Regions from separate parts of the Homo sapiens genome. Here all the other regions are linked to region 3. Evidence: promoter capture Hi-C in human tissues and cell types (Jung and others, 2019). All regions are on one chromosome and are shown on one strand. Each heading gives the region's core, a stretch centred on a gene start or on the middle of the fragment in contact. The rest is flanking DNA. Distances are from core to core; before and after follow the strand shown. Region 1 overlaps TNRC6B (trinucleotide repeat containing adaptor 6B). Region 2 holds the start of ADSL (adenylosuccinate lyase). Region 3 holds the start of FAM83F (family with sequence similarity 83 member F).

Region 1 (2,700 bases), core at 1-2,500, 270 kb before region 3:
GCCCTGAACACATATGACGGTGGAACTATGGAGGCTCAAATTTGTAACACTCTAGTCTGAGAAGGAAAAAAGGCCCCCAAAATAATAAGCAACAGCAGTTAAGTTAGCCCTTATGCCAAGAGCACACACTTACGGAACACTAAACCTCAGTTCCAAGAATCACCAATACACATCGCATACTAGGATCCTCTCTCATCTTTTGACTAATCCCAGTGGTTTATATAATGAATGGCTTTCCTGGACTTTACATCAAGCAATGCAAACAAAGTGCTCTCTCTCTGTCAAGCTGCCATGCATTCGATTCACAGGGTGCCTTACCTGGCGCAGTCCCACTCTCACTCTGCAGCAGCGCTCCTGTCACTTGTGCGTTGTTTGGGTTTGCTCCAGGTGCTGTGCAGGGAGGAGGCCCTGCCCCACCCCCAAGGAGCATGCAGGACGGTGGAGGGGGCTGCCCACGTTTTAGTAACACTTTGTGGTCCTGCTGGCAACGGAATCGCGGCGGCACCTCCCGAGGCATGTAGCGGGCGGCGCTTGGCGGTTGTCCGTTCGGCACTGCCACCCTTTTGGCATTGTTGCCACCATTGACTGGTGGCGATGGAGAGCTGCCAATTGGGCTGGCGGCCGTTGGTTGGCTTAAACTTGGTTTCGTCACTTCGGGCACTAAAAGAGAGGGGTTGGGAAACAGTCTTTGAAATACATCAAATACATTTTTTCTAAAAATTTTAAAAATAATTTTATTATTTTATTTAGAGATGGGGTCTTGCCATGTTGCCCATGCTGGTCTTGAACTCGGGCTCAAGGGACTCTCCCACCTTGGCTTTCCAAAGTGCTAGAATTACAAGAGTGAGCCACTGTGCCTGGCCAAGATTATTATTTATTTATTTATTTATTTATTTTTGAGACGGAGTCTCACACTGTCACCCAGTGTGAGTGTCGCCCAGGCTGGAGTGCAGTGGTGCAATCTCCGCTCACTGCAACCTCCGCCTCCCAGGTTCAAGCAATTCTCCTGCCTCAGCCTCCCAAGTAGCTCGGATTACAGGCGCCCACCACCAAAACCAGCTAATTTTTTGTATTTTTAGTACAGACAGGTTTTCACTATGTTGACCAGGCTGGTCTTGAACTCCTGACCTCATGATCCGCCTGCCTTGGCCTCCCAAAGTGTTGAGATTACAGGCATGAGCCACTGCACCCAGCCTATTTTTTATTTTTTTGAGATGAGGTCTTGCTGTATAACTCGGGCTGGAGTGCAGTGATCTTGGCTTGCTGCAACTTCTACCTCCAGGGCTCAAGTGATCCTCCCACCTCAGCCTCTTGAGTAGCTGGGACTACAATGCATACACCACTATGCCCAACTAATTTTTTTTTCCTCCTCTAGAGACAGGGTTTTGCCATGTTGCCTACCTAGACTGGTCTCGAACTCCTGAACTCAAGCTATTTACCCACCTCGGCCTCCCAAAGTGCTGGGATTACAGGTGTGAGCCACCACACCCAGACCCTGGCTAAGATTATTTGTAAGAAAGCTTACATGGTACCAATTCTAACAAAGTAACTTCTCCTTTTACTCTACTCTCAAGGGAAACAGTTTTTCCAAATTCTCCACAATCTCTCCAGTTTGCTGAAGGTAGGATGAAGGTGGCGGCTGACAGTGACAAGAATTTAAACACAGCAAGGTCATGGAATACATTCCATTAATTAAGGCGGAGAGGGAAGCAATCAACATTCACTCCCCTAAATCAACAGTGGAATTAATTCCCTGAAGTGCTGCCTAGAAGAGTTAAATGTCCATGGCAAAGTCCTTGGGAAAGGTTTCAAGCCTCAGTCCAAGGGTCCCTTCCCTTCATCCACATTCTTAAAAGATCTACCCCTGAGTAAACTTTATTGAAGCCCCTGGCCTAGATGGGCTAAACATTCTTCCTAAGTGCTCCTGGAACACATCATCCATCTCTCTCTACCATGAAAATTCTCCATTCAAAAATCCATCTATCTCTACCACCGAAATTCTCCATCTACAAGTCCCATCTCTCTCTATCACAGAAATTCTCCATTTACAAGTCCTTCTCCCTCACCAGGCCATGACTTCCTGAGGGCAAGGACCCATCTTTCATCTTTTCTTTCTTCCTTAGGGCATGGCACAGAGTGGACTCTTACAAGAAACTCCAGGCCTAGAAAATCACAAACTCAGCTTGGTTCTGGTTTCTACAGCTACCTGGACTCAAAGACTTGCACCGCTCTCTGTGTAAATACTAGAAATGTTACAAATCTTTTTGCTTTTCTTTAAAAAAAAAAAAAAGTGTTTCTTCCCAATTCTTTAAAATAGAAATTTCAAAATGTAAATACTTTTTCTGTTTACTTTAAATCATTTGATTTTTTTAAACTTAATTTTAAAAATGGCCCGCACACAGCGTGGGAATGTCGGGGCAACCGTGAAACCGCACTCTGCCGGACCCTCTGGCTCTTCCCGTCGAACATACAGAGAAGGCTCTCTTAGATCTGTACCTCCCTCGCTGCATGCTGCCAGAAGATCACTACCCTCTCCATAAAAATCTACCTGGCAAATAGAGGCTGGAAGTCGTACAGAAATAATCATCAAGCCTGACAGTTCGGATGATTCTGAGGCCCAAATCCCTGCCTCCCAGGGTAACGTCAGGGCCAACTCTGGGGGTAGTACTGCTTTGACTGCTAAAATGATGCGGGGCCAGC
Region 2 (2,700 bases), core at 27-2,526, 350 kb before region 3:
TACTCTTCAGGGTTGTTTGGAGGATTAATAAGCAACCATGTGTAAAGGGTTAAGACCTGGGTCTCAGAAGGCACTATCTGAATGTCTGCTATTATTGTAGTGTATCGCCCAATATTTTGGAGGGCAGTGATAAGGGGAGGGAGGGAATCTAGAATGAAAGTTTCCTGTTTGGAGAGTTCCATGGTACAGGTCCTAGGCCCGAAGTCAAATTGTTTCCATGTTTACTGTGCCGTTTGAGAGGGCATTGCCAACTTGCTCGTTGTGGCACTTTCCTCTGAAACTTGAGGAGAAACATTATCGCTCTCTGGATCACCTTCAGTTTGCTTCAACTCTTCTGGAGCTATTTCTGAAACCGCTGGGCTAAGAAGTTCTCTATGCAGCCCTTAGAAAAGAAATTATAAACCCCGTTTAATAAACCCCTACCCGGAGTCTTCTCCTAAGAGGCAAAGCGGAGGCCAGTGAGGCAGAAACGGTGGCCTAGAAAACAAGCATTCCAGTCCTGTCACTAACTACACAGGCACTGTGGAAAACCAAGGGGCTACGTGCTCAGCTCAGGCTCTGGAGTGCACCCAGGTTCAAATCCCAGTTCCGTTCTTAATAGCTGGATGGGCTAGGGCAAACAACAAGCTGTCCGGGCTTTGTTCTCCCCTGCAATGTGGGAAAAACACCATCAAGCCTGCAAGATCTTCATGGATTACACAAGAAAAGATTAGTGAAATAATGAGCACAACAGTACGAAACAAGCGCTCGGTGTCTGTGGTTAGCAGCGTACTCCTGCGGGGATGGCCAAAATGAATTCCCTGAAACTACAGGCTGAATTTCTCCCAGCCTCCTCCGCGTCTCGAACCCTCTCGGACTGAGAACACGTGAGGCAACAGGTGGCGGCTCCCGGATCTCCTGCCCTTGCTTTCCTGGGGCCGCAGCTCCTCAGGACAGGGAACACCCAGCTGAAAATAGCCGGGCCGCAGCTCCGGGGTGGCTAAGCCCAGCCCGGAACAGAGCCCGGCACGTGCTGGGGCGGGCCCGTCCCTCCCGGCCCAGCCCCTCAGCCCGGGATCCGTTACCTGCTCGGCCTCCGCCAGCCACAGCCACAGCTGCCGCCATGTCCGGAATTTATACCTGTCGCTAAACACGAAGCACATCTCCGGGCTGGCATAGCGGGAGGCAAGAGGTGAGCGGTAGCTGTCGGGCGAACCATGATCGCCTCCAGCCGCCATCCCAACCCTGCGACCCCGCCAGGGTGGACTGGACCAGGGAAGAGCGGAAGCGGAAACCTGGAGGCCAGGGCAGGACGGGGCGGGGCGGGACTTCCTTCACGCGGTCTCGCTCTCTGGGTTCCGGGCGCCCTGGGCGCTGCCGGCTGCGGAGAATCTCCGCTGCTTCTGCCTGAGAATTGACTTGGTTCGCTTCTTTGACCAGAAACATGATTGATGCTTCCTACGTTACTTAGCCGCGCTACACTTTAGTTTTCCTGTCTGAAAAGAGGTACATTAAGACTTCCTTGGCCGGGCGCGGTGGCTCACGCTTGTAATCCCAGCACTGTGGGGGCCCCAGACCGGAGGATCGCTTGAGGCCGACAGATCGAGACCAGCCTGGGCAACACAGGGAGACCCTCCCGTCTCTAAAAAACAAAAAGCAAAAAAAAAAAAAAAAAAAAAGGCCTGCCTTTCGGGTTGTGCGGATTCAGTGTTAGAGCGGTGTCTGGCACACTTGGAAGGCCGTGTGTACGCTTGCTGTTACTCTTATTACTGTCGCCCCACCCACTCCTGCCCGCGGCGCACCGAGCTCGGCTCTAAGGAGAAATGAAGATACCCAAGGGAAATCGGCATTTACTGCGCCCCCAGTGAGCCGGCTGCGGTGGCCTACGCCTGTAATCCCAGCACTTCGGGAGGTCGAGGCAGGCAGATTTCCTGAGCTTAGGAGTTTGAGACCAGCCTGGGCAACACGTGAAACCCTGTCTCTACTAAAATACAAAAAATTAGTCGGGCATGGCGGCCTGTACCTGTAGTCTCAGCTACTTGTGAGGCTGAGACAGGAGAATTTCTTGAACCCGGAAGGCGGAGGTTGCAGTGAGCCAAGATCGCGCCACTGCACTCCAGCCTGGGCGACAGAGCGAGACTCCGTCTCCAAAAAATAAAAGAATTAAATAAATAAATAGAAATAGAAACACTCAAGTGGCCCCCCCCCTTTTTTTTTTTTTTGACAGGGTCTTGCTATGTTGTTCAGTCTGGAGTGCCAGTGGGGTGATCACACAGGAAAGGGTTCATCTGGAGCTGTAAGAGCCAGGTGTCTCAGCTGGGCACGGTGACTCACGCCTATAATCTCAGCACTTTGGAGGCTGAGCTGGGCAGATCGCTTGAGTCCAGGAGTTGGAGACCAGCCTGAGCAACATGATGAAACACTGTCTCTACAAAAAATACAAAAATTAACTGGGTATGGTGGTGTGCACCTGTAGTCCCAGCTACTTGGGAGGCTGAGGTGGGAGAATCACTTGAGCCCAGGATGTTGAGGCTGCAGTAAGCCATGATTTTGCCACTACAGCTTAGGCAACAGTGAGACCCTGTCTCAAAAACAAAACAAACGAAAAGAGCCGGGTGCCTGCACCCTCTCCACCTGCACTTAACTCCTAGCTCTCTGCCTTTTACGTGAGGAATCTAAAGACACTCAAGCCAGGTGTGGTGGCTCACGCCTGTAATCCCA
Region 3 (2,700 bases), core at 159-2,658:
AATGTAGTGGGGCATCCTACATTTGATCTGGAAGCTGCCCAGGACTCCCACCCAAAGGCATAAAGATTAAAGTCTTCCACCTGTTCCACAGTGGACTGGCCTCACCAGCCACCCTGGAAACAGCCCCTCCTTCCAACTCTCAAGCAGGACACATATGCTAAGTAGGAGCCCTTTCCTGAGCTGCCGAGTCAGGTGACCTGCTGTGCCAAGGCGCCCAGCACAGGGCCAGGCACACAGTAGGTCCTCAATATACCCCGTCCCCCATTCATTCCAGGCAGCTGGGGCCTAGTACCCGGCCCAGGAGAGGCTGTGACTGTGAGGGCGCCAGCTCAGCTTTGACTATGGGAGGAGAGGGGTGGTCCAAGGAGCAGCATGGCAGAGGTGGGACCGGGAAGGTCACCGCCACCCACTCCCTGAAGTTGTTTTGACGATCACATGAGAAAGCGGCTCGGGATATGTTCTGGGCAGCACGTAGGTTATCATCAAGACCTTTGAGTGGTGCATTTTAACCACAGGGCCTCGGCCCCCAGTCTTCCCTGGGGAGGAAGGCTGGACAGGGAAGTTTCAGAAGTACAGAGCAGAGCCAGTGCCTCTGAACGCTGGAATACCGACGGCTGACATCTGTCCAGCACCTTGTAATTTGCCAAACACGTTCCCAGCCATTCGCTCTACAGGCCTCACTGCAGCCCCAGGAAGTAGGGGCGGGTTGGGGCCCATTTTCCAGAGGGTGCTCAGGGCGGCCTGCCCCGGGCCCTGCCTGGGAGGTGGGGCCCGGTCCAGGGGACTGGGGCCGAGGTCCCAGCGGTGTGGGGGCGAAGGCGGGGGCCTACCTTCTGGGCCTGTTGGATCATCTGCCTGACCACCTGCTTGAGGTGCGGCGCCTTCTCGTCCTTGGGCGGGTGGGTGAAGAGCGTGACCCGGCTCACGCCGCGGTAGAAACCAGTGTCCGTCCAGCCCAGGTCCAGAGGAGGCACCTCGGTGTCGGAACGGTCGGGCCAGTAGGCCAGGGACTCGCCGGACTCAGCCGGCGCCGGCGCGGGGGCCTTGGCCTTGGCCTTGCTCTTGCCCCGGGCGTTGGCGGCGGGGACGGCGTCCTCGTAGGGGCTCCAGGCGGCCCGCAGGGCCTGGCGCTCCGGGCTGGAGAGGAAGTCCCGCAGCTGCTCCTCCTTGAGCCGCTCGCGGTAGGCCTGCTCGCCGCCGCCCAGCAGCGCCTCCAGCGCGGCCCGCCGCCGCTCGCAGTAGTAGAAGGCGGCCTGCGCCTCGGTCACCTTCTCGTTCACGTGCGCCTCGTCCAGGCAGTTCAGCTGGGACTCGGCCATGGCGCCCCGGCCCCGGCCCCGGCCCTGGCCCCGGCCCCGCCGCGGTCCGAGGTCCCACAGCCGCACCTGGAGCCGCCGAGGGGCGGGGCGCCTCACCTGGCCGCGAGCTCTGCCCCGGCCCGTCCCGCCCCGCCCCGCCGTCGGGGAGCGGCCAATCCGCGCGGGCGTGGCCGTCGGGCGGGGAGGGGCCGCCGCCTCCGCCGGGCTCGCCGGGACCTCCGGGCGGCCTGGCGGACGCGGTCGGGCCCGGGCCTGCAGGGCCCACCAGCCGGGGCTAGAGTCCCTGAGGGGACGCCCCCAGGGGGCGGGGCCGTCGCAGACCCACGTGCGGGCTCCGGCCCCGACTCCTCCGCGGGGTAAAGGTTCGCTGTCCGGCCCTCGCTGCCATCCGCCCCCGCCGGCCGCGTCGCGGGTACGAGTTCATTTTCCGCGCACGTGGAGTCCGGAGCACGTGTTCTGGCCCAGTGGCCTCTGGGGCCGCCGAGCTGACCCCTTCCCCGTCGAGGGTCCGGTGTTGGTGGGGGGGCCTGCTGCAGGACGGGATTGTGACGGCTGAGGAGCGGGCAGGGGGTGTGCAAAAGCGAAATGCTAATGAGAGCTCGAGCTCCCCACCCTTGCGTCCCAGTTCTGAGATCAGAGCCCTTCTGGGCTGGGAGTCCAACACCTTCACTGTAAAACTTTCTTTTAAAAAATAGCTATCCAAACAGAAATGATGTAAAGAGCAGCAGTGGAATTCCCCCCGCCCCCACCTTAATTTGAAGTAGGGTGTGTGGTGTCTCTCCGTGTGTGTTTGGGCAAGATAGGCTGCCAGAGACATGATTACTATATTAGTGATTCAAAATGTATGTTTGAGCTCAAGGAAGGAAACCGCACGTGCGTGCACACCACACACACGCACACACACAGCAGCGGTGGCAGCAGCTCTGCTGTTTCCCATCGGATTAAATACAATCGTCTTAGTCATTAACATATTATGTTGTTCATGCACTGCTCTACAATTTGATTCTCCACATTCAAAATATTTTCAGATCATAACAACTAAAGGTTCACATTTCTCTCACTTTATAGCGCAGCATCTCAGAGCTGGAAGGAGCTTTTCAAGCTCCTCCAACCCCCTCATTTTACAGTTGAAGAAATTGAGGCCTAGCAACGTGTGCGTTGCCCAGGTCTCCCGTGAAAGAGGCAGAGCACGGGGACTGCAAGGTTTTCTGTCTTGGAGGTCTTTCGCTGACATCACGGCCGCCTTTACCCTTTCTCCTTTTCTTGTGAAACGACAGGTTATTGGGGACCTGGTTTTCACCCCAGGGGATTTGAAAAGGTCACTTACCATTTCTAGGCCTTCCTTTCATGCTCTGGAAAAAATGAGAGTTAGATTTTCAAA

Evidence for each region. Contacts are between HindIII fragments. The study calls those that stand out against the background at their distance.
Region 1: a fragment that was not itself captured here is called in contact with the fragment with the promoter of FAM83F in region 3 in 4 of the 25 tissues and cell types used here (H1 embryonic stem cells, IMR-90 fibroblasts, dorsolateral prefrontal cortex and 1 more).
Region 2: the fragment with the promoter of ADSL here is called in contact with the fragment with the promoter of FAM83F in region 3 in 3 of the 25 tissues and cell types used here (IMR-90 fibroblasts, aorta and lymphoblastoid cells).

What each region holds. Positions count from the first base shown.
Region 1 is chr22:40,259,792-40,262,491 of GRCh38, reverse strand. TNRC6B (trinucleotide repeat containing adaptor 6B) reads right to left here. Exons shown (of 23, transcript NM_001162501.2): 4 at 319-660. It overlaps LOC124905121 (a long non-coding RNA gene), which reads left to right. Exons shown (of 2, transcript XR_007068107.1): 2 at 2,124-2,700. Among named protein-coding and RNA genes, the nearest start is that of TNRC6B, 83 kb to the right of the region's middle. The HindIII fragment of the contact is 8,779 bases long and covers 1-2,700 here.
Region 2 is chr22:40,345,076-40,347,775 of GRCh38, reverse strand. ADSL (adenylosuccinate lyase) reads right to left here and starts at 1,276. Exons shown (of 13, transcript NM_000026.4): 1 at 1,065-1,276. The coding sequence starts at 1,217. RefSeq lists enhancers at 221-733, 734-1,247, 1,248-1,761 and a silencer at 934-1,023. The HindIII fragment of the contact is 18,864 bases long and covers 1-2,700 here.
Region 3 is chr22:39,993,662-39,996,361 of GRCh38, reverse strand. FAM83F (family with sequence similarity 83 member F) reads right to left here and starts at 1,408. Exons shown (of 5, transcript NM_138435.4): 1 at 831-1,408. The coding sequence starts at 1,319. LOC124905155 reads right to left here. Exons shown (of 2, transcript XM_047441700.1): 2 at 1,594-2,014. The coding sequence ends at 1,594. RefSeq lists a silencer at 1,366-1,485 and an enhancer at 1,060-1,693. The HindIII fragment of the contact is 11,866 bases long and covers 1-2,700 here.